Regions from separate parts of the Homo sapiens genome. Here all the other regions are linked to region 3. The links are contacts of gene promoters, found by promoter capture Hi-C in blood cells and fetal thymus (Javierre and others, 2016). All regions are on one chromosome and are shown on one strand. The core of a region is centred on a gene start or on the middle of the fragment in contact, and the rest is flanking DNA. Distances in the headings are between cores, read along the strand shown.

The links. The method cuts DNA at HindIII sites, captures the fragments that hold promoters and counts their contacts. A CHiCAGO score of 5 or more calls a contact.
Region 1: a contact is called between a fragment that was not itself captured here and the fragment with the promoter of KIAA0408 in region 3, in 1 of 17 cell types (monocytes). The highest score is 5.3, in monocytes.
Region 2: a contact is called between a fragment that was not itself captured here and the fragment with the promoter of KIAA0408 in region 3, in 3 of 17 cell types (monocytes, M0 macrophages and M1 macrophages). The highest score is 6.9, in monocytes.
Region 4: a contact is called between a fragment that was not itself captured here and the fragment with the promoter of KIAA0408 in region 3, in 1 of 17 cell types (monocytes). The highest score is 6.3, in monocytes.

Annotation. Positions count from the first base shown.
Region 1 is chr6:127,205,943-127,212,164 of GRCh38, forward strand. All of the region lies in intron 1 of LOC105377989 (a long non-coding RNA gene), which reads right to left. Among named protein-coding and RNA genes, the nearest start is that of RNF146, 58 kb to the right of the region's middle. The HindIII fragment of the contact is 5,622 bases long and covers 1-5,003 here.
Region 2 is chr6:127,318,876-127,325,324 of GRCh38, forward strand. The region is part of intron 3 of ECHDC1 (ethylmalonyl-CoA decarboxylase 1); the gene reads right to left. LOC105377994 (a long non-coding RNA gene) reads left to right here. Exons shown (of 4, transcript XR_001744334.2): 1 at 1-5,044; 2 at 6,287-6,401. Among named protein-coding and RNA genes, the nearest start is that of ECHDC1, 22 kb to the right of the region's middle. The HindIII fragment of the contact is 4,105 bases long and covers 2,157-6,261 here.
Region 3 is chr6:127,455,665-127,462,231 of GRCh38, forward strand. It overlaps KIAA0408, which reads right to left and starts at 3,725. Exons shown (of 6, transcript NM_014702.5): 1 at 3,511-3,725. The region is part of intron 7 of SOGA3-KIAA0408 (SOGA3-KIAA0408 readthrough); the gene reads right to left. The HindIII fragment of the contact is 12,466 bases long and covers 1-6,567 here.
Region 4 is chr6:127,276,623-127,283,028 of GRCh38, forward strand. It overlaps RNF146 (ring finger protein 146), which reads left to right. Exons shown (of 3, transcript NM_001242850.2): 2 at 3,609-3,718. The coding sequence starts at 3,717. Among named protein-coding and RNA genes, the nearest start is that of RNF146, 13 kb to the left of the region's middle. The HindIII fragment of the contact is 8,313 bases long and covers 1-6,406 here.

The DNA.
Region 1 (6,222 bases), core at 943-3,442, 250 kb before region 3:
ATGTAGATAATTGCCCTAGGAATTACTTCTCTTATTTTGTGTAATGCTCTGGTAAGATTTTTTGTAGGTGACATAGAAAGCATTGTATTCCAATGCCAAGAAAAAAAAAAAACTCATTAGAAATATATGTAACTTACAGCCAGGCGCCATGGCTCACGCCTGTAATCCCAGCACTTTGGGAGGCCGAGGTGGGTGGATCGATCACCCGAGTACAGGAGTTCCAGACCAGCCTGGCCAACACGGTGAAACCCCAACTCTACTAAAAATACAAAAAATTAGCTGAGCATGGTGGCAGGCACCTGTAGGCCCAGCTAATTGGGAGGCTGAGGCAGGAGAATCACTTGAACCCAGGAGGTGGAGGTTGAAGTGAGTCGAGATTATGCCATTGCACTCCAGCCTGGGAGACAAGAGCAAAACTCTGTCTCAAAAAAAAAAAAAAGAAAAGAAATATATGTAACTTATGAGTAAATTATAATACCTCCTAAAAACCATTATACCTAATTTACAATAACTACTACTAATAATGACAAAATAAATTATTTGAAATGTATATACCCTAAATTATTTCTTGTTCCCAATGTATAAATCTTTATTTTTATAAAATGAAATAAACTTGTTAACTATCAGGGGAACAGTAAATGCCTTCCATTTAGTCAAATAAATATGTAAGGATATTTAATCTCATATAAGTGTTTTTTAAAAGTATACTTGTCTCTCTTTCCATAGGAAGTAATGTCTGGCAGAGGAAAACTGCTGAGCTATGTCTGAGATAGTTTCATCTGCTCACAGGCTGCTCCTGATGGCACATATTTATTGTGTTTCTCACATGGCCTAAACTATACCAGCAAAATGAGGAATTCAGTTTTCCTTTTAAAAAATTTTCCTTTTGAAAATAACAGGCATTTTACTAAACATTCCTTTTTTTCTTATTTTGATTAGCCAAAATGCCAGTTGCAGGCAGGCTACATAAAGGATATTCTAAATTCCAGACCCTCTTTCATCAGATATTGCAAAGGCTGAAAGTAAGATCAAATTTACCCAAGCCACAAGTTGTAATAAATTTAAAAGAATCATCTTTGGCTTCCATTATTAGTCATTTCCTCTCTTTCAACAAACAATAATTCAACAAATAAAAATTTTAAAAGTTCTGTCTATTTTAGGCTTTGCAGATAGAAAGACTTGCATTTAAATCTCTTTATTATTGACCGTGCACTCTTGGAAAAGTAATTTATTTGATTCTCCATATATTCATATATAAAATAAATATAATATTTTTACAGACTGTATAGAGTTGTGAAGATTAAAGGAAACTATGTGGCATGCCAAGTATGTACTGGGTTCCCAGTAAATTGCTACTAATTAAAATGTATGTGCTTTGCTTAAAATAGAATTTCCAAGTCACTCTGAAACAGAAATATCGATATTTCTGTTATATATAAATATATATAAATACAATCATGTAAACACACATACATACACATATATTTCCTTCAATAATCAATCTTTCTATAATATTTAATTTAATCAATAGGTATTTACAGTATATCTACTGTTCACCAGGCAACATGCTTGATACAGATAATACAAATCCACAAAATAAAATTCTTGTCTTTGAATCTTCCTACTAGGAGAAACACATAAGATACCCAAATGCTATGAGGGTATTTTACCTAAGTCTGTGCCTCCTGGTGCGGAGGTCAAGAGGAATGAGCCCCTAACTCAGGCTTGGATGCAGGAGCAGGAGAGGATGAGTGTTTAGTAACGTGAGCTAATTCCTCAATCATGAGTACTTCTTTGGCAGTGAAACAAAATAGGAAATGAATGTCGGGTTGGGTATCACAGGCCATGAGAAAAGCCTGGCATAAATGAGAATATGCAGTTTGGGGAATTACAAGTAGTTTCTGTGTTCTCTGGCAAGAGATTTGGGAAGTGTGAACAGGAAACAGATGATAAATGGCCTTATATGTTATGGGAAAGAGTCTATACTTTATCTTGAAAACAGTGATGAGTCTGTTAAGGTTTTTATGAGGAGCAATGAAATAATTCTATTTGTCTTAAAAGTTGCCTTTGGTGACAATGAAAAGATGGATTTTTAAGAATGAAGAACACTCGGATGAGTAACAGTTTTAAGTATAGGAGTATAAAATTGTATAGTCAACTTCAAAATAAAAAGAACCTGAATTAATGCAGAAAAAGATGAAGGAGAGGAGGGAATAGACACCAGAGATCATTTGAAGGTAGAAGCCATGAAACATGTAACCAATAGCAAGAAGCAGGGGAGCAAAGTGAGTCCCATGTCTCACTCGGTAAGCAGTGTCATTAATCAGAGAATCACCCACAGCTGAGAGTGGGATTGTTTATTTGCTTTGTTGAGATTGAGGTGTGTGACAGATATTCAATTGAGATAATCTCCTAGGAGTCTGGAATATTATAGGTCTGTCCCTGGGCTAAACTGTATGAAAGGTAGAGATATTGATTTAGAAGTAATTATCTAATAAATAAATCACAGGGCATATGTGAGTGAGCCTAAGGAGAATTCAGTGAAAGAGAAGAAAAAAGATTGAATACAATTAGCAATATTTAAAGAGTGAGTAGAGAAACAGGGAGTTATGAAGGGAACTGAGAAAGATGGACTCAGAGGTAAACAGGTCAAGAATAAAGAAAGCAACATTATAGAAACATTATGGGGCACGATTATATCAAATATTGCAACAAAATCAATCAATCTGAAGACTGGCAGGTGTCCCCAGGACTTGCCAATATGGTGTTCTTTTAGAACTTATTTTAACAAAGTTCTGAGGACAGAATCCAGGTCTCAGTGAGCCAAGAAAGAATGAGAGGTAGGGAATTGAAGATGCAGAATGTAGACAACTCAATAGAGAAGGCTTCTATCTGTGGGTAAGAAGGAAACTCAAGGTACAGCCTACAGAGAGTCAACATATGTTTTATTTGGGTCTGCTTTATGAAGAAATTAGACTACAGCCATTAACCTACTGAGGCAAAGGAGAAAAAAGAGTAAATGTTCTAATTTAACAAAGAGTAGAACTATCCACACCTGTGATAAAACTAAAATTCCACTATAAATATTAAGCGTGAGGGATAAATGTCAATTTTAACAGAATTTCCATTCAAACTTGTTTTCCCCAATACATCTTCCCAACTTTCTCTCTTGACTTCCCATATCACTTCATAATTTTCAGTAAGATATTTTTGCCTTCACCTTTATTTCTCTGTATCCTTTTCTATATAAATGCATTTGGTAATGCTACTTCATCTTAACTGATTTTTTTTTTCATGTAAAATCAATCTTGGTTGCTGCCCTCCTTAACACCTAAGTCAAATTTCTCAACTTTTAGGCAATATTGGCTATTCAACTCTGTGCCCCAAACTCGTGTATACTATATTACTTTCTACTTTTTGTACATTATTTTTTAAATAAATTACAAATAAAATAAAAATAGATGTCAGAATCTTTTTAAAATGTAAAATGCTGTAAAATATCAAGTCTGATAATATTATTAATATCAATTTAAGGATGCCTTATCTCCCCCTTGATCAAATTGTCAGCCAATATTTGAATCATGAATATAAATCACTGACAAGAAAAAAAAATAGCTCAGGTTGACGTCACTGCCTAGTAGCAAAATTTCCCTTAAAAAATTTAAACCTGTTAATTATATTTTATTTAATTAAATACATATATTTATTTCCATATTTGCATTTCCTTTTTCAAACACATGCAGCAGCAGTCTACTATATGCAATCCTGTTTAATGCAACCAGTTATTTTTGTAACAGTTTATAATTCTTTCACATATTGGCATCATTTCAGCTATTCAATTAAAAATGAGATTTTTTTATTAATGTATTCAGTTGCTCATATAAAGCATCTTGTGCTTAGCATATTAAGCAAAAATAGGGCTATATTGTTTCCATTAACTTACTATTTAATCCTTAAAAATAGAAACCTAATGTAATGGTTACAGTATGGATCCAATACTAAATATAGAATTCTAGTTTTCTGTCCTATAGAAACTCAGATGATCTGTAAAAAAATCACACATCTTCACAACTTCTCCTAAGCCAATAAAAGAGAAATGCTTGCTTTCAAGTTAGATTCTAAATCATAAAATTTATTATATAAGGCCAGAAAATAAAGCAATTATCTTACATGTATTGTAAATACTTCTGAAAAAAATCAATTATGTTTCAGCACCCCTCCAAAACTGCTCATTTAAAAAAATTTATTTTCAAAACATATTTCCTTTTTGCCTAAATAACAGGGCTTGCCCTGAGAAACAATTGTGGATTTTGAAGACTGCACCAAAGTTGTGTGTTGGTATCTGATAAAATTCTAAAAATAATGTTAAACTATTGATAAGAAGCTAGAATACCGGCCTTTACCATCAGAGAAAACTACAGGACACATGGGATCACAACCCCTCTCAGGTATCATGCTCTCTGCCTTACTAATCCCATTTTTCTGTTGTGGTTTAGTTTGTTTGCTTTTTAGAGTTTTTAAAGTAATAGATTAGGGAAGTTTTACAGAATGTGTATTGAATTAAATAACAGATTTGACAGAACTTCCCTGAATATATTTATGTATAAGATTTAGAGAAGCAGCTACAATTAGATGGCTCCATATCTGATTGAACAACCCTATGTAAGAAGTATTGATAAAATTATCTATGTCAATCTCTTTGTCCTTCATCTTGCCCTGTTAGCCCCATCTCAATAGCTTAGACGAAGCTAAAGAAAGCATGCCTACTTGAATTTGAAAAAAAAAAAAAAATAGGACAGTGCTGACAGAAATAACTGATACTTTGGAGGAGAAAGTCGAAACTGTAAAATAGCAGGTGTGATGATAGGCTGGGCCAAAATGATAAAATCAGTAAGAAAAGAAAAAATAGGCTTACGTTAAAATACAACAAAACACACAATACAAGGAAATGAATGGCAGTTGGCACGGAAAAAGTCAACCCTCAGAGGTTTTATTGGACCACAAGCTTACTAGGAGCTAAGAAGCTGATAACGGTGCCTAAAGGAGCTAAGGAAGCAATGGTGCTGTGGACAGCCCGCCATTCCCAGAAGCTGCTGCTACTCCCGCCCCCAACCCCCAAAGTCAGGTCCTGGGAAAAAGCTATTCTGAGTGTCTGCATTCTTGGGCTAGAATTTCTTCAAAGGCACCATAATAAAATATCCATACCACTGAGCTGGAGCCTTGAAAAGTGGCCATTCATTCATGTCCTCAAACCACAGCATGTTCAAATTCACCCATGAGCTCTATCAGGAAGTGTAACTCCAGGGAATTCTAGCACATGAGGTGGGATTTTTCAAGGCCACCCCCGTTTTTAAGGGAATTATTCAAATATCCACTAAATGAAAGAAATGGACAGCTCAATTTAGAAGAGCTGTATGTTGGAGTCTAGGTATGGATAGAGAGATGGATGTGAGAAGTGGCTAGATCAGACTGGAAGCAGCACAAAATAAATAGGAAAAGCATAGAATTTGGGGAGTAGGGGATGACCAAGAATGAGAAGGATGTACATGAAGGAAGGAGCCAGAAGAATGGGACTTTGGCTGGGCGCGGTGGCTCACGCCTGTAATCCCAGAACTTTGGGAGGCCGAGGTGGGCGGATCACTAGGTCAGGAGATTGAGACCATCCTGGCCAACACTGGAAAACCCCATCTCTACTAAAACACAAACAAAAATTAGCCGGGCGTAGTGATGCGCGCCTGTAGTCCCAGCTACTTGGGACGCTGAGGCAGGGGAATCGCTTGAACCCGGGAGGCAGAGATTGCAGTGAGCCGAGATCGTGACACTGCACTCCAGCCTGGCCACACGGCCAGACTCCGCGTCAAAAAAAAAAAGAACGGGACTTCATGTTACTGTTTCTAAACCTTAACTTCTCTTAAAGTTCAGAACATCTGGCAAAATCATGCTTTACACTTACTGTACCATTGCCACTTTTTCACTTCTACCACTCCTGACAGATTCATCAAAGATTTGAGCAGATCAATCCACTTTCATTCCTATTTCTACTAATCTTGGACAACTGCCACTTCTGTGTGGACAGTATATTCAACACTCCAACCTTATTGTTTATATATCTCTGTCTGGATACCCTAGTCCATATCATATCCCAAATCATCTAGCTCCAGATTTCTAATTTCTTGATTACCACACTGTGTCCACAATCTCATGTGTTTTCTGCTTCCTCAA
Region 2 (6,449 bases), core at 2,959-5,458, 140 kb before region 3:
CAGTGTATCTCACGAAGTGATGAGAAAATTAACACAGGCACGAGGAGCTAAAAAGCTTTCAAAGTAAACTGGTTTATTCTCTGCTAAAAACCTTTCCAATAAAATCTGTTCTATTACCTATATCAAGTAATTTTAATATGCATATTTGCTCTTGCTACATTTAGATTACATAAAATTCCAATGAAGTATCTAGAATTGGTAGAAATAAAGGTGAAGCAAATTATTAGCCTGTGTACTATTATAATTTTCATTCAAAAGACAAAAGGCACGCTAAAAATGTCTATTAGAAGCAGTATGAAGTAAACGGTTAGGAGCACAGTTTCTAAAGCCAATCTGCCTACATTTGAATCTGGGCTCTAGCACTTTCTAATTAGTTTGACTTTGCCCAAGCTGCTTAACCTCTCTGTCCTACAGTCTCTTATCTGCAAATTGTGCTAACAGTAGTATATATTTTATTAAGGGAGCTAGTAATGATTAAGTTATGGCACAAAATAAGGTTAGAACAGTGTCTGACATACAGTAAGAGAATAAAAGTTATCTATCATTATTATTAATATTACTAACAATACTGGCAATAGATAATGAGTATGTTTTGGTTTTAAGTGTATCATAAAACAGAAGTTTAAGCAGTAATGGCCAACATGCCCTAGAGATGAGAAAGATTTCATTAAATTTGTCCTCCAAAGTTATTAAGCCCACAATGGTTAAATGCTCTGTCCTCTCACTGGGTTGAAGAAAGCAAATAAGCCAGTAAGAGATATCTGTGATAGAGTAAGCTGTGGGTGAGGAACCAGTAAAAAGCTAGACCTGCTCTAATGTATAAAAGCTGGAAGCTGAGAAGTACTAAAACAAGGTTTTCAAAGTTGCTGCAGACAGTGATATTTTCATGCTATCTGGATGATACCTGAGATCCAACCCTACTCCTCTAGCTCCTTCTCATAAAACAAGGATAAGAAGAACAATGCTCAACCAAAATGCCAAAAGGAATGATTAACATCATATGTACTCTAAGCCATGTTTAGAGTGGAAAAATGCCCAGCCTGTAGAAGTATCTTATTTAGAAACAAAAATAAGCCCTTTCTTAAGTGCTTGTTGTATGGATTTATTAATTTCCTCAAAATACATGGAAGAGCTTAGAGAAAATTAAAATAGTTTTTTTTTTGCTAGAGTATTGCTCTGTCTCCCAGGCTGAAGTGCAGTGGCGTGATCTTGGCTCACTGCAACCTCCACCTCCTGGGTTCAAGTGATTCTCCTGCCTCAGCCTTCTGAGTAGCTGGGATTACTGGCACCTGCCACCATGGCCAAGTAATTTTTGTATTTTTAGTAGAAACGGGTTTCACCATGTTGGCCAGGTTGGTCTCGAACTCCTGACCTCAGGTGATCTGCCCACCTCGGCCTCCCAAAGTGCTGGGATTACAGGTGTGAGCTACCGTGCTTGGCCGCTTGTCTGTAAATTAATCAGGGTATGGTACAATAGTAGTAGCAAACACAAGGAAGTCAGACAAGAACTTTGAGGTCACCATAGAAACATAAGCAACAGAGATCGAAGGAACAATAGATTGGGAGAAAAGTAACAAGGAAAGTTAAGGGACAAAGGAGGATATAGTCTTCAAGGTAGATTAAGAACAGAAAGGTTTCTAAATGCCAGACTTTTCCTTGAGGCATTATACTGATCCATTGAAGACTAAGCAGGTTTTTATTTCTCCATATTCTGAAGCTTATAACTGCACTTTGATTACTTATTCCCTCTGAAAAGAAACTTCTTATAGCCTACAGGACATCTGTGGCATCAAATCCAAGTCTTAATATTTAAATATATTTTTTTCTATTTTATTCCTTTGTCTTTCCAATACATAACTTTTCAGCAGGGTTAATGTTTGTGTTATCCTAGTGGATCTCCTGGCCTCTACCATCTGAACCAAGAATTAACTGCCTAATAGGGACAGTTGGAGCTCTTTTCCTGCACAATAACCAAAGCATACCAAGACGCGATCAACTTCTTATGGGATCAGTTACACTTAAAAGAAAAAAAAAGTGGAATAATAGATAAGAAATATAATAAAATATTGATAGGGTTGATGCTCTTATGGGTACATGAGGGTTTCACTGTATTAGTCTCTGCTTTTACCTGTATTTTGTAGTTTACATTAATAAAAAGCTTTTTAAAACTGAAAAAATACAGTAGTAAAAACATCAAAATAATTATATTTTTATGATAAAAAAGCCACTTAATCACTTCCAAGCATTTTATCACTATTAGAAGGGAATATAATCTAATTGCTAAAATTGTCATATATTTCAGTTATCTCATCATCCTCAGAAAGCAAATTCAGCAAGTAAGTAGATGCTAGTGATGCATCTGTAACAACAAAGAGTAAGTATTTGGATAAAGAAGAGCCTCACTAACAGACAAACTGTTTATAACTTAAAGCCATGATAAGTTTCAGAATGTTTCAGCCATGAGGGGTAGATGCATTTATATGTTGCAGCTGTAACTCATATATAATACATGTATAAGCCTCAAAAGTCCTGAGGCCATTTTAAGTTTCAGCTTTACACAGATTTATAGTTCCTTCTCAAGTATATAGGAATATAGTTTATAGGAAACATGGAAATATCGGGAACTTTACATAAACTATTTCTAGTTCTTGTTAATTTTAAAATCATAATGTGATAAACACATTCCATACTTTATATGTATTGTTACAATTCTTAAAATTATCCATATTCAAAGTGCTTACTTTTATGCTATATATTTCTTATACTATGACTTCAGAGATTTCATTAAAGGATAATAAAGAATTCATCTACCCTATAAAATGCTTTTTCAAATAGCTGGACGTCGGGCCAGGTGCAGTGGCTCACGCCTGTAATCCTAGCACTTTGGGAGGCTGAGGCAGGTAGATCACCTGAGGTCAGGAGTTCGAGACCAGCCTGGCCAAAACAGTGAAACCCCATCTCTACTAAAAATACAAAAACTAGCCAGGTGTGGTGGCGGGTGTCTGTAATCCCAGCTACTTGGGAGGCTGAGGCAGGAAAATTGCTTGAACCCAGGAGGTGGAGGTCACAGTGAGCCAAGATCACACCACTGTACTCCAGCCTGGGCAACAGAACCAGACTCCATCTCAAAATAAACAAACAAAAAAGTAGCTAGGCCTGGTGGTTCATGCCTGTAATCCTGGCACTTTGGGAAGCCGAGGAGGGCAGATCATTTGAGGTCAGGAGTTTGAGACCAGCCTGACCAACATGGTGAAACCCTGTCTCTACTAAAAATACAAAAATTAGCTGGGCATGGTGGCCCACGCCTGTAATCCCAGCTACTTAGGAGGCTGAAGCAGGAGAATCACTTGAACCCAGGAGGCGGAGGTTGCAGTGAGTCGAGATCGCTGCCACTGCACTCCAGCCTGGGTGACAGAGCAAGACTCTGTCTCAATAAAATAAAACGAGATCAATGTTTTAAATAAAATAAGATTCTGAGTTCTAGGCATACTCATTGTAAAGCAGATTCACCATTCCACATTTCCTTGATAAGACTGACAGATGTATACAGCAACAAGTGACGAACACTTGCAGTAATACTACTCCTCAGCTGTTAACCAAGATTTACTTCAGGCACTGAAAAGAGCAGATTACTTGGAGAATGTAGGTACTAGAAAGAATGAACTTTACTAAGTGATTCCTTATTTGAAGCTGGAATAAAAACTCTCTCCATGTTTTCCTGCATGACTTATGCCAGACCAATGATGTATATATACTATATATATATGTGTGTATATATATATATACAATGATGTATATATAAAACAATAAGCATGTTTCCACTTCCATCTCTAAATATATAGAAAAAGAATCGTGGTCACATGATCTAAAGAGACAGAAACAACCTTCTAACTAAAAGAAAATTAGAAAGTAAAATAACCACTCACTTTTTAGAGATGTTTTCCTAACCAGCTTATATCAAACCCACAACAGTCTATTATATCATTCTGTCTTTAACAGTGTCTTTCATGAACTAAGGTGAACAGTGATACAACCATTTGAGAGATGAAAAATACATATATATAGGTTGAGCTATGAAAATATGAAATCTAAACGCTCCAAAATCTAAAACTTTTTGAGTGCTGACATGATACTGTAAGTGGAAAATTCCACACCTGATCTCATGTACACAAACTTTGTTTTGCGTACAAAATTAATGAAAATACTGTATAAAATTACCTCCAGGCTGTGTGTTTAAGGTGTATATGAAATATAAGTGAATTTTTTGTTTAGAGTTGGGTTCCATTCCCAGGATATCTCATTATATATATATATGTAAATATTCCAAAATCTGAAAAAATGTAAAATCTGAAATACTTCTAGTTCCAAGCATTTTGGATAAGGGATACTCAACCCGTATAATCAAATGACTTGCAGGTGACATAGCTAATTATTAGATCTTGGAGGGAAAAATCCGTCTTTTCAAATTTCCAGCTTAGTGCTATAACCGTTCAGATACATCACAAATTTAAGTCTAGTGGGGTGCTACAAATTATGCATCATCTCATTAATGATAATGTTTACTAATCTCAAGATCTTTGAAATAAAAATAATAGCTACCTTTTTCAGATACGGTGCTAGTAGGCACTTTATATATATTATCTTGAATCCTCACAATAGCTCAGCGAAATATCCACTATACTCCTCATTTATAGACTAGGAAAATAAGATTTAGAAAGATTAAGTGACTTGCCCAATCACTTAGCCAGAAAGTATTGAAACCAGCTTTCAAATCCAAGTTTATCAAAGCCAGTGTTCTGATTAACCAAAAGATTCTTCCTCACATGTGCAAATAATAATCATATACTACATACAGTGGCATGAGACTTATGGAATATCATGAAAACTTTACTTTTTTCCCTTTCTAATTTCATTTCCTTCCTTTCTTTTCTTTTCTTTGTTTTTCCTAGAAGATGTGGTAGAGGGGGAAGGAGCACTGAATTCATGAAAACAAGTTCCTTGGAGGATTGATAAAGGAAGATGATAGTATTTCTACTCTGTCAGGGTAATTCAAAAGCATATTTTTAAATTTGTTACTACTTCTTGAACTTTACTATGTGCCAGAACTAGGTGATTTATATACATAGCTCATGTAAAACTTATCATGAGATGCTAAAGAGCTTCCACTTAAAGGAATTCAAATTCTTGCTGATTTTTAATGATGACCACTTTTGTTCATTGCTAATCTTCCTGTCCTTCATTTTCTTCAGCCCTTCCCACTACTGCACCCTAATCTTTAAAAAGCAAAACAAATAAACAATAACAAAAGTACTGACTTCATATGACTGCTAAAGGAAAAGTGATGATATTGAATTTGATCTATCATCTTAATATTACTAATTTATATTACCTATTTAAAATGTTACAGTAGCTCCCTCTAGTTTACAAAGCACTTTAGAATACATTAGCTAACTCAATCCTCAAAAACGCCTGTGAGATAGATTTTATATATCCCATGGAGCTGAGGCTAAGAGGAAATTGAGCAACTTTCTCATTTAGTTGAGTGGCAGGCCTATGTCTAAACCCAAGACTTCTCACTCTGCATTAAGAGCTTTTCTTTATCCTATTTTAGTCACAGGTAGGCTCGACTAACCCAGGAATGTGCTATATCAATGTACTTGAAAAACAGAAACACCTAACACCTAGATCTTAGTTTCTATCACCATCCTCTACCATTTTCCATAACCAGGACTCCTTGAAGAAATCACCGATTATATAATTGGAGCAGGGAAAATACAAGATTAACTTGGAGTATCTAATAATACTAGAAAGTAAGGGAGTACTCAAAAAACAAAAGGATAGGGGAGTGACAAAAGAAGACAGGACTTTGGGTCTTTGGTCTTTGGGCTTCCAATGGCCAAAGCTGGAACAATTTGAGCAACAAAATGAATAATGCATATAAAATAAATATCCATGAGTGCATATTGATATAAATAACTGAATAAATAAGTATGTGAGTAAATGGGGAAGAAGACCCAAATCCCCCTTACATAAGAATAATGGACTTATATGTCCCCCTTCCAGGAGATGGAATTTATTTTCCCTTCCCCCTTGAGTGTAGACTAAACTTAGTAACTTGCTTCCAAGGAGTGGAGTACGGAAAGTAAATTTAAAATAGAGTAACCAGGCAAACACTATCTTCGCCAGGTGACCAAGGTTAACATCATTAGTGATAAGTCACCTTGACAGCATATTCCCTTGATGTGATGTGATGAAAATAGAAGCTTACCTCTGGTCTTTCTCTCAGAATCCCATAACCCCAGCCTAATATGAGAAAAACACCAGACAAATTCCATTTGAAGGATATTCTACAGAATATCTAACCAGCACTCTTCAAAACTGCCAAGGTCATGAAAAACAAGGTAAGTCTGAGAAACTATCATAGGTAAGAGGAATCTGAAACAATGACA
Region 3 (6,567 bases), core at 2,475-4,974:
TGTCTTTGGCACTAGCACTATTATGATTAATTCAGTCACGAAAAATACATAATTTCATATCTGGCTATTAAAGGTGCTATCATATCTCATTTTATCCATTTGGCCATGCTCAATTTCTGACCTCATTTCTCCACCTCCTCTGTCACCCCTTTCTTTGCTATCTTTCCCACATATAAACCAGTAACCACAAGTACTTGCCATAATAAATGTCAGTGAAGAACAAATAAAATAAAGATGGTAAAGAACATACAGAGTTTTGGTTTTTGTTTGTTTTGGCTAATCTAATTTCCATTGATCTTGATCTTGAATACCTAGTAATCTTTTAGGTTCGTCTAACAATTCTTCATAGGAAATGCAGACAGTGCCTGTCTTGAAACTAGCAGACTGCTTTAAAACTATACGTAATTAACTGTGTGGTGAAACTACCTTGCTGACTAGAAAGTATTTGCCACTGGAACTTCTTAGGAAGAATGGTGTGGTTTGAGATAATAAGAGATAAATGCAGATTTAACCAAAGAAACTAAAAAAGGATGCAGACTAATTTCAAGCTACCTGGAAAAGAGGAGCTATGATAAATCCATGTTTTATCCCAACTGTCTTTAAACATTGGAAATGTTCAGAAATCACCATAAAGTCTTTTCTACAATTATGTAGCAAATGGCTCCAATTTTTCCTTCTATTCCTAACTCTTCTTGAATCGCTTCCATGCTACTGTTGAAAGATGCCAGGCCTTTCTCTTTTTAACCTACCGGAAGATCATTCAGGAATACCCTAGATCAGTCTTGCTCTTGATAACAAGACTATATCTAAACCCAGGTAACAGTCCTGAAGCAGACCGAATCCTGCACCTATTTGCAAAGAGCCAAACTCATCCCTTAATATGGAGAAGGACCAATGTATGGAGCTTTTCCTTTCCAGGCCCAGAGCAATTGCTAGTGCCAAGAAATGTAATAGTTATGGATCAGAAACAAGCCTTTGCAAGAACATTTCTATAGAGCAATATCTGTGCCAATTTTTTGTGGAAGGATTTGGCCTTCTTAGCATCTCAGTCTTGTCGTAAATATAATGTTAGATGTAACGCAGCCAAACATATTGCTTCCACCTCTAAATATAAAGTGGTGGGGGGGGGGCATAGAATTGTTTTGGAGATTAAGTGAGCAAAAGGGAAAAATGCTTAAAAGAAGTGCCTAAACACTGCTCTGGATCATAGCAAATGCCTGAAAAATACTTGGTTCTTGTTTTCTTCCTTCTGTCCTTTGTTCCCTCCCTTCCTCTTCTTGTCTTTCCTCCCTCCTTCCCTTTCTCCTCTCTTTCTCCATCTATCCCTCTCCATGTTGTTCTCTGGAAAAAAAACAGATTATTTTGGTCTTTATTTTAAAACGAGATAGAAGCAAGTGTAATTGTGTGAACTCTCATATTCTCCATGATCTTCTTTTGCCTTTTTTCAAATATTTTAAAGATACATGTCACATATTTAAAGAAAAAAGTTTTATTGTTAATAAAAATGTGAACAAATCTTATGTAAAACTGCTTTTGTTATAAATCTGACTTAAATATTACAAAAAATATCAAACTGAAGGGGCAACTTTGTAGAGATAGAATGTTTCGTAATGAGAAGTTATGGGGTAAAGTGGTTCAGCAGATTCAAAAACTCAATTTAAGTGCTCTCTACTGGGGCAAAAATAAAAGTTCTTTTTGTTCCTAGTTGTCACTCATTTTCTCCCACAGATACTGGCATCTATGTGGGAGAGAAGGAAGGATTTCTGCTATCTGCATCCCCTACCCCATATCTCTTTGGCTCTCCAGTTTATGTTCTTCCTTCTAGAATTCCATTTCAGAATAAAAATTTATTAGAGCAAATGTAAGAGGACAGAGTGAGCTGCATTACTTAGTCACACACCCCAACTCTAAACCAGCATTGCATAATCCCTTTTAACTTACTTCCCCTTTCCAGGGCTGAAAGCCAGAATTATAAAGAGTTGTGAGTGGGTTGCATAAGTATGGTGATGGGAGGCAAATAGTTCTGCTAGCCTTCCGGCCCTACCAGTAAGCAAAGTTTAAGAGTAACACACAAGTCTCACAAGAAATTATTTTCACCCCCAAATTAGCCTCAGTTTGGTCATGGCAGCAATTCTTTCTCTGAGGGGTGCTCCATTCTTAGGACACCTGGGTCACTACCCTTTCAACCTCCAACTCGCCCATTGAAAACTGGACTGCATCCAAACAAACTAAACAGCGTTCCTTAGGGGCAGCTGCTCCATTGCTACTTCTCTCTTTTTAGATTATTGTTTAGAGTACTTGTTTCTTGCTGTCCTTATTTCCTTTTGCTAAACATATCACTTTTCACATAATTAAAGATTTTTCATTTATAAGAGGTTACATATTCCAATAGAAATGCCACACACAGTAGGTACTGCTAATCTCACAATTCCTAGAAGACTCATTTGGCCTGAAGATGTTTTGCTTCTGCTTAACTTTGATGGATTAGGAATTCCCCAGCTTATAACCTATCAGAGTAATGTACCATTTACCTCCTAAATTCTCTATCCCTTTCTCCAGGCTATTATAATCACTTGAATTATTTCAATGAATTAATAAATCTCATTCCTCTCTATTGTTCACTTGCAATTGAATCTTTCCAAAGACCACCATGATTTGATTTTGTTAGAGTAAAAGGGAAATTTTTTTCATTGCTGTGTATTGCTGATTTAGCACATTCCTCATGCTCCAACAAGGTCAAAGAGACACTACCACATGCAATTCCGAATGAATCAACTTTACCGTTTCATTTAATTATCTTCTTCCTTGTTTTCTTTACAGTTATTTACTCAAATTAGAAAACATCCAAGCTGTATGCACACTGATTTTACTTATAAAATGCAAACTTTAAAAGCAAACATTTGGTTTGAGTAAACAAATGTCTAAAACTAACCATCGTGAACAAAAGACATAGTGGTAAGTTTCCCTCCTAAACGTAGATTATTCAATTATGAATGGCATAGACTTCAGCTCAAATTACAGAAACACTAACTCTACAGTGAGTCCACCACCACCTTAGATAAAACTAAAATTTATTTTTCACCGCAATTTTCAAATACCAAGTCTCCAGGATTGTGACCTTTAATTTGCAAATGTTAAAAGTCTTTATATGAATAAAAAAAATCACATTTGAATAAATATACTTAGTGAAAATCAATGATGGGCAAAGTGCTTTTCAAACAACTGAGAAGCAGTGTTGGAAAAACAGTCTCAAAGAGCGGATGGTACTGTCAGTCCACAGTTGGGAAATCCACCCTGAGCAGCTGAACAGCCTTTTTCCTAGGAGTCAGTACAATCTGTTATGCACCCCGCCCACTGTTTTTAAGCCCAGACACAGACAACAGCAGAGACAGATGTTGAAATTACACTCCACTTAAACAGTATCCATAGTTTAAAACATCTCAACAGCAGCCCCTTTGTATCCTGCCATAATTAGTCACTTGCTTGTAAACTTGCCGGAAAGAAACATACCTTTCACACTGGGGAGAAATCCTATGGATGCTCGACCACTGGTCAATTAGCAGTGGAAGAAAGTGGATGGCTAGCTGTCTTAAAGAGAAAAGTCTCAGCTCGGTGAATCTCGATTCTTTACAAGAAAAGGGGATGCAAAATAAGTCCAACCATTCCACAGAGCAGTACTGACAAGTCCCTTTGAAACCTTCACCACTTTTACAAGTCAAAAAGCTGCTCAGCTTAGTGTCACAGCAGCAGCTGAGACTACTGTGACGTCAGTTACTTGGAGGCGGCCTTCAAGCCACCTCTTCCAACCAGAGCTCTGTAACTTTAGAGCAGCTCATGCTCTGGGTAAACAACTCCAGGTCCAGGACATTTTTAGCTTTTATAATGGAGCCCAGTATTTTCAAACTTGCCAAAAGAGCTGGTTGTTAACATCATACAATGACAATGGCCAATTTTAGATTTATTTTATTAGGAAAGTAAACTCATTTTTTTATAGGCAAGAATTATCTCCCTCCTTCCATAATTCTTTCTCCTTCTCAGCTGGTGGCAGGATGTACTCTGCTGCACCTTTAGAAGTTTGCATCTGGATGTGGCAGAACAATATGTGTAGCATAATTATATATATTATGCACTCTCAAAAGATCTGTGAAAGTTATCAAACTTCTATCTTCAAATAAAATAGAAATGGAACATAAAGTCCAACCTCTTAGCTCTCTGTGATTCTGACAGTGTGTTGCTTTTATCTACAGTAGTAGCGATGTCTTTACGTTAGAGAAAATCAGAGCCCATGGGAAAGGATGAGATTTCTTATTGTGGGAGGACAAAACACACACACACACACACCCCAAAAATGAGATACCTATGGGCTTATTTTCCACTAAAGTGTGCTGCAGCCATAGGAAGAGAAAGCAGCCTAAGTGTATGGAAAAGCTCTCTAAATCATGATCAAATCAGCCTGTTCTGAAATGCTAGGAGATCTTGCCTCCCCAGCGACATTTTCAGGTTTATTGTGGCTTTGTACACACATGCATCTGATGATATTTGGTTTAATTTAGTCAAAAAAGTCTCTAGAGCAATTTTTTGCCTAACTTAGCAAATACACAAGTTTAAACAATAAGGTCTTATCTTCAAGTCTGAAGAGCTTCCCTGGTGTGGTCTTTAAAGTAATACATATTCACTCACATTATTTTCACCTGCTTCCAGATAAACATTTCATGAGGAGCTAAAGTTTAGTAATAGTAACCTGCTCACAGTAGGACTTTAATACATGTAGGACAATCAAATGAAACCATACTCTGTGTCTGGAAAGCCTGACATCATAATCTCAACAGCAATAACAACAATAACAGTGATAGTTATAGTAATAATAGTGATTATTCACTGAGGGGCAACCCTCTGCAAGGTTCTGTGCTAAGTACTTTGAACAGACCTTTATCTGAGTTCACCCTCAGAGCAATTCTGTCTCTAGATACTGATAATCTGATCTTACTGATAAAACCCAAGCAAGGCTCATTGTGGTAAAGCATCATGCAAAAGTTCATAGAAATGCACCCATGTGGAGGAAACGGGTTTGAACTGTTTTGTCTGATTGCAAACCATGGAATTTTGTCATAGAGATCTAAGTTTCAATTCTGCTGCCACCACTTATCTGTGTGATCTTGCAGACCCTGATTCTTCCTTAAAGACATAATTATATTTACTTTAAGAGGCCATAAGAATATGAGGGAATATATATAGCGCCAAGCACACAATAAAGGGTAGCTCATGTCTGCCTCCATGCTTATGAGGCTAGGAAGAAGATTCTTTGAGAGAGGGAAAGGGAGGAGGGAGTTGCACAAAAACATCAATACAGAATTGTCTTAACATTGTTTCTGGCCGGGTGTGGTTGCTCACACCTGTAATCCCAGCACTTCTGGAGGCGGAGGCAGGTGGATCACATGGGGTCAGGAGTTCGAGACAAGCCTGGCCAACATGGTGAAACCCTGTGTCTACTAAAAATAAAAAAATTAGCCGGCTGTGGTGGCTCAGGCCTGTAATCCCAGCTACTAGGGAGGCTGAGGCAGGAGAATTGCTTGAACCCGGGAGGCAGAGGTTGTAGTAAGCAGAGATGGCATTCCTGCACTCCAGCCTGGTTGACAGAGCAAGACTCTGTCTCAGAGAAACAAAACAAAAAACATTGTTTCCTTTACCTTTTCTTCTACTCCAAACTTCTTAACTTCTATGTATCACTTGTAAATCAAACTAAGACTATTTTGTAAATCCTATCGAAAATTCAGATAGTATGTGTCTAAGTTACAAGAGATGTTAGGTTGGACTATACTTCCTAAGTGTCACTCAGTAGTACCCATTTCAATCTCTTTTAATGGCTGTCCCAGTGTGATTGTCCCAGGGCAATCACAAATAATTGCCCTATGTTTTAGAAAGAATTATGTCATTCATACCTGATGACATACTAATTTATTTCAATGTATATCAGATTCAAGTGCTTCATCTGCTTCTTGTCATGGTAAAGCTGATCTTAAATTGTACACAGAATCAAATAATAATGAAAATCTTTGACAAAAAGTTTACTCCAAGTTTACCACTTATTCTAGTATTTACCAACTTTTTCTGTTGAAGTTTATATATATATAATTTATATTATATGTTATTTATATAAAATATATAATTTCCAGGCCATATTTCATACCCAAAAGACAGAAAGTAAGTCAATTAGGTGATACGGTGCAAAGTCAAGAAATGTTCAGCACAGCTTTTGATATTTTCCCTTGAAAACTTTTTGTTTTTTAAGAAAACTTTTAAAAGAAAATTTACCACAATTATATACATAAAATGAATGCATTTAAAAGACTGATGCTGGTATACTCAGCCCTACAGTTACATTCAGACATCTTGAACTGCCTGAGGTTTTCAAGCAGGTGTCAGAATGACTGAAAATCTTATGAAAAAAATGCAATTTGTTTTGTAATGCAGTTTTTCTTTAAACCATTTGAACATTTAAATCTTCAAATATGAAATTCACAAATGATTGCCCTATGTTTTAGAAAGAATTACATCATTCATACCTTA
Region 4 (6,406 bases), core at 1,414-3,913, 180 kb before region 3:
TGGTCAAGAGATGGTAGGTCCCCATGAAATTGAAGAGCAGGTGTGGGAATGAGTAGGCTGGAAGAACCAGAGCTTGTGATCTGAGAGTCGGATTAAGATTTCAGAGAGGCAGCAGTTTAGGTGACAACTAGCTTTAAATGTGATTATAATATTTGGTTGCTGGAGAGTAGATTAATTTCTTCAAATTTAGGATTTAAGGAACTGAAAATTGAGGATGGTGTTTCTCAGATTGTATTTGAAGGACTAAAGCATGAGTACCACCTGGGGTGAGATTCCTAGGTTTAAACCTATGTCTACTGGCCTAGAATTTCTAAGGAAAGGGGCTGAGAATATGTATTTCTAACAAGCAATTTCAGTGATTCTGATGAATAGAAGTTGGGACAAGTTTAAGAACCTGTGCAATAGGTGTTGGATGGTTCATTTTCAAGGCTATTTAAATAGGCTGATAGTCATGTCAGGAGTTAGGATGAAGAGGATGATCAGTAGTGAAAAGATGACATTAATCCCTTACAGGTGGTGAGAGAGCAGTTTTAGGGGATTATGGGGTATGTTAAAGTCAGTGTGATAGAGACTTGAAAGAAAAAGTAATGATGTTGGAGCAGTAAATTGTCTCCTCCTGTCCTATATATAGGGAGTGTATGAAAATGTGCAGTTTTCTGTTTGGCGTAGGCTGCAGCAAGGAAATGAACATAGCCTTCTTTGATGCCATTGAAGTTGTAGGCTCCTTGAAGTTGGTGAAAGGGTTGAGAGGAAAGTCAAAATAGTGGAGTCCATTTCATCTAAAGTCAGAGTAAAACAAAAAGGTTACTTAGAAACCTTGTTTAGTCAGTATATTAGGCAGTGTTCTCTAGGGGGACAGAACTAATAGAATATATATATGAGTTTATTAAGTATTAGCTTACACGATCACAAAGTCCCACAACAGGCTGTCTGCAAGGAGCAAGGAGAGCTAGTCCGAGTCCCAAAACTGAAGAACTTGGAGTCTGATGTTCGAGGGCAGGAAGCATCCAGTACAGGAGAAAGATGTAGGCTGGGAGGCTAGGCCCATCTTTCTTTTTCACATTTTTCTGCCCGCTTTATATTCACTGGCAGCTGATTAGATTGTGCCCACCAGATTAAGGGTGAGTCTGCCTTGCCCAGCCCACTGACTCAAATGTTAATCTCTTGGCAACACCCTCACAGACACACCCAGGATCAATACTTTGTATCCTTCACTCCAATCAAGTTGACACTCGGTATTAACCATCACAGTCAGTTACTTTTGAAAGTTCTCTGATTTTAAAACAAATTGTTTGTTCTGTTAAACATTTGGTAGGATAAGTCAGCTTGTATTTAGGGGCCACATAATGGCATTAAGAATATGTTTCTTTAAACACTAGAATCTTAAGATACCGTAGGGAGATAGATGCCCATAGTATGAGAGCCACATGGAAATAAAAGAAGATTGAAGTCTCCTCTATCTTGTGTTTACTGTGAGATCTATCATTTCTTTAGTTATCATGTGTTCTTGATTATTCTGTGTAATATGATGTGCGTCCTGTAGTGGACATGGTGAGGTGGAGATGGAAATACTAAATGAGAAGAAAGAAGATTAATGACTGAGATGGTACAGGTTTTTAAGAGTACAATTCCATGTAGTTAATTTCATTTACAATGTTATGCAACTATCACCATTATAGATTTTCCACAACTTTTTTTTAGCATTACAAACAGAAACTCTGTACCCATTAGGCAATAACTCTCCACTTTCCTTCCTTCACTCTCTGGTAACTTCTGATACCTTCTGCTTCTATGAATTTGCCTATTCTTGATATTTCATGTAAGTGGAATCATACTTTTCTGTATGTGGCTTATTAGTATGTTTTCAAGGTTCATCTATATTGTAGCACATATTTCTTTTTATTACTGAATAATGTACTGTTGTATTTATAGACCACATTTTGTTTATCCATTCATCTGTTGGTAGATACTTGAATTGTGTCCACCTTTTGCCTAATATTTCCGCAGTGAATATTGGCATACAAGTGTCTGAGAACCTCTTCAATTCTATTGCTATATCCCTGGGAGTGGCATTGCTGTGTTAGCTTTTTGAGGAAGCAACAAATTATTATTCACAGCAGCTACACCCTTTTACCTTCCTACCAGCAGTTTTCAAAGGTCCTATTTTTCTACATCCTCACCAACACTTATTATTTTTCCCTTTAAAAAAGTTGTAGCCTCCTTATAGATGTATCATTGTGATTTTGATTTACATTTCCCTAATTACTAATAATGTTAAGGATCTTTTTGTGTGTTTATTGGCCATTTGTGTATCTTCTTTAAGTTCTTTACTCATTTTTTGCTCACTTTTTAATTGGTTTGTCTTTGTTGTTGAGCTGCAGTTCTTTACATATTCTGGATATTAAACCTTTATCAGATACATGATTTGCCAAGATACTCTCCCATTCTGCAGTTTGTCTTTTTATTTTCTTAACAGTGTCTTTTGATGCACAAAAATTTTAAACTTATATAAAGCCCAATTTATTTCCTATGTTTCTCATGCTTTTGATGTCATATCTAGGAATCCATTGCAAATCTAAGGCCATGAAGATTTGCTCCTGTGTTTTCTATTAAGAGTTTTATGGTTTTATTTCTTATATTTAGGTTATTGATTCATTCTGAGTTAACTTTTATATATAGTATACGGTAGAGGTCCAGCTTAATTATTTTGCATGTGGAAATCCAGTTGTCCCAACAACATTAGTTAGAGGTGCCTGTTTTCCCCCATTGAGTAGACTTGACACCCTTTTGGAAAATCAGTTGGCTATTGATGTATGAGTTTATTTCTGGACTCTCAATTCTATATCATTGGTGTATTTATCTGTCCTATGCCAGCACCAAACTGTCTTGTTACCTTAGCTTTGTAGTAAGTTTTGACATTGGATTTTTCAAGATTGTTTGGGTTACTTAGGGTCCTTTGCAATTCCATATGAATTTGAGGATTGCTTTTCCATTTCTGCAAAAAAGGTTGTTGGAATTGTGATAGGAATTATGTTGAATCTGTAGATCACTTTGGGTAGTATTGTCATTTTAATATGTTAAGTCTTCCAATCCATACATCACTTGTCTATTTACTTAGCTCTTCTTTAATTTCTTTCAGTAATGCTTTATAGTTTTCTGTGTACAAGTCCTTCACCTCCTGGGTTAAGTTGATTCCTGGCTATTTTATTCCCTTAGTTACTTTATGAATGAACTGTTTTCTTGATTTCTTTTTTGGATTGTTGTCTCCTGGTGTATCAGAACACAACTGATTTTTTTGTGTGTCAAACTTGTAACCTGCAACTTTGCTGAATTTGTTTATTAGCTTTCTTGGGGATTCTATGAGATCTTCTATCTAGAGAGAATAGACATAGTTTTACTTCCTCCTTACCCGTCTGTATGCCTTTATCTCTTTTCCCTAATTTGCTCTGCTAGAACTTACAGTCATGTTGAATAGCAGTGGTAAAAGCATGCATCTTGTCTTTAATTTTTCCCACTTTTAAGATAAAGTTTTCCACTGAATTTTTTGAAAGGATTATACATAATTAACTGATTCTCTTGATCTTAATTACTCTTTTTTTCTTTTGCAGCACAAAGAATGAACCAGCAGTGGAAGAGAAAATACTGTAAGCTGGCTGACTGCTGGTGAAGAAAATGCTTTATTTTTGTGGCAGGCATCTGTGGGATCTGTAATAGAAATGTAAGTGTAGCATCATGGTTTTTTTCAGTGCTGCAGTAAATTAAATGGATTGGTTTAACGTGTGGTAAATTGAGTATCTGTCATATGTAGTTTTAATTATATTAAATGAGCATTTTCTTTTGACTTATAGGTGCTTTATTAACAATTTATTTACATTAAGTTATCGTTAATGTAGATTTCCAAGTCTCCTCAAAAGGAAAAGTCTCTATAAGAAAAACTGAAGACACAGGAGTTTGCTCAAAGAATGCTGAAATAGATCTCCAGGTCCTCTGGGTTCTACCTTCTTTTTACATAATAATTTTCTTAAATAACTAAGCTAGGCAAGTAGTACTAGCTTTTGTAAATAAGACAGACTACTAGGTTATAAAAACTCTAGTTACTAAAAACTTGTTTCACTAAATTAAAGGAATTTCTACATAATTGATTTTTTTAATGTAATAATACATCACTGCATTTTATTCATATCACTTCACTCTGATCCCCAGTTTTACTAGTTGTGCTTTCATCATTTATCTTTGCATGATATGCTTTAAAGTGTTACACACTACCTTGGATTTGTCCATATTTAACTTCACCGTATTGATGAAACATTTTTCACTATGAATATATTTCTGTTTTCTAAATTCATATAAGCCCTATGCAACTTGATGTCATTCATGAAAAATGTAGTGAATATTTTATTGACTTTTAATTACAGTGTTTTTCTTATTAGAGCAAGAGTGACCTTGGTAGATGCTATTTCACATTTTCCCAGTTTGACATAAAACTCTTGCTTTCTACTCTTCCAGTATGATACTGGTTACATGTAATGATATGTATTAACAATAATTAATTTATTATTAAAAGTATGACCATATTATTTTTATTCAGTATTGAAAATTTGATAATTGAAAAATGATACTAATAAGCATTTGTCTTTAAAAATATATATTTTATTTAATCCTGTCCATTTATCTATCTGTATACATTTTTTAAAATCTTAATAGGTCAGATAGTCTAGGTGCTGGTCATCAAGGAACTTACTGTGATCCAGTAAATGAGACATGTATGTAATTAACAAACAGTGGAATAGATGCCATATTAAGGTAACAATCAGATGCTATTGAAACTGAACAGAGGAAGAGATTAATTTCATCTGAAGGGTTCAGAATGAACAGAATAAGTTTCACCTTGCCTTCAAAGAATGAGTAGAATTTTAACAGTCAAAGAAAATTAGGAAATATTTTTCAAGCCAAGGGAATGAGGAGGGAAACAGCTGCCTAATCATCAACACATTTTAGAGGAGTCAGGGAACAGTAATATGTGGGAAGGCAGGGTAGGAGAAAGAGACTTCAAAATAAGTGCAGGGAGTGAACATTTATTTAGTACTTACTATATTACCAGATTTTACATTTATTTAACATACAATCAATCTTAATTGATTTTGATACTTAGGGACAGAGTATATTGATCAGTCTTGGAGGAGTTAGGGGACAGTACTTACTAGATGTTGAGGGGTTAGCTTTGTAAACAAGTAGCAGTACCCCATATTGAGCCAGGAGGAATAATGATAAGACAGTAAAGGTAAAGATAGATTTTCAGGATTTATTTTTGACTTACCTAATTTCTCAGTGATACAGGTGTTAGTATATCGATAAACTAGGAGGGAGAAGTTTTATGATAGTCTCTGGGGAATAGGGAAAGAAAGATGTCTTGGCCGAGTAAAAGTTTACTGGGATTGATGGTGTTTAGGAAATCAAAATAGCTATTAAGTGTGTGGGGTTCACAACTTTTGCACCACACAAAAGTGAATTGTATGGTGAAATTTTTGTCACTTAGAGTAACTTGCTTGATTATTCTTTTTTGCGAATGTCTCCCTTGTTGGCTTTTGTGGTGGTGGTCTATCTTTATTTCCTGTTCTTCTCTGACCATTCCTTACACCCCTTCCTGGCTATTTTACCTCACAGATATTGGAGTAATTCAAGATTCTGTGGTTGGCCCTTTTGACTGCTCTCTCTACAGGTTTAATTTGGGCATTTACTCATTTTCATGGCTCCAAGGACCATGTATGTGTTGGTGAGTCACCAGACTTTTTTCAGCTCAGATTTATTCTTGGAGTATCAAACTAGTAAATTCAGCTGTCATCTACCTATCTCCACCTGGAGACCTTAATAAAGTCATTATGTCTGAGACAGAACTCTCCTCAAATTCTGAATTTTGGTGAATGTGTCACCATCCATCAGTAATCAAATGCTTTCATTTCTTTTTCCTTAGCATTCTTCTATTCTATTGTTGGAAACTTACATCAGCAACCTCCCTCTAATTATCTTATACTTGCATTACTACCTGGATATTCTAGTTTCCCTTTCGCCATACCTCCTCCTGCATTACCAAACTTTCCTCCAACCTGCTGTTCAAATGGTCTGGAAGCTACTAAACTGGCTGTTATTTCCTGACGTAAAACCTTTCAGTGAACTCCTCTTGTCTCATTAGTGGTTCATATGTGGACCAGCTTCATAGAAATCCTTAAGCCCCTTGAAATTATATGTAGGATTGTTCCCTTTTTGTGTGTCTGTAATTGGATTCTAAATTCAGACTTTAAAAATCTGATTTTTAATATTTGGAGTTTTTATTGCAAGCTAAAAATTTCTTGAATACTACACATACTAAAGATCTTTTTTGCTTATAATAATTTTGCCTTTCATTTGA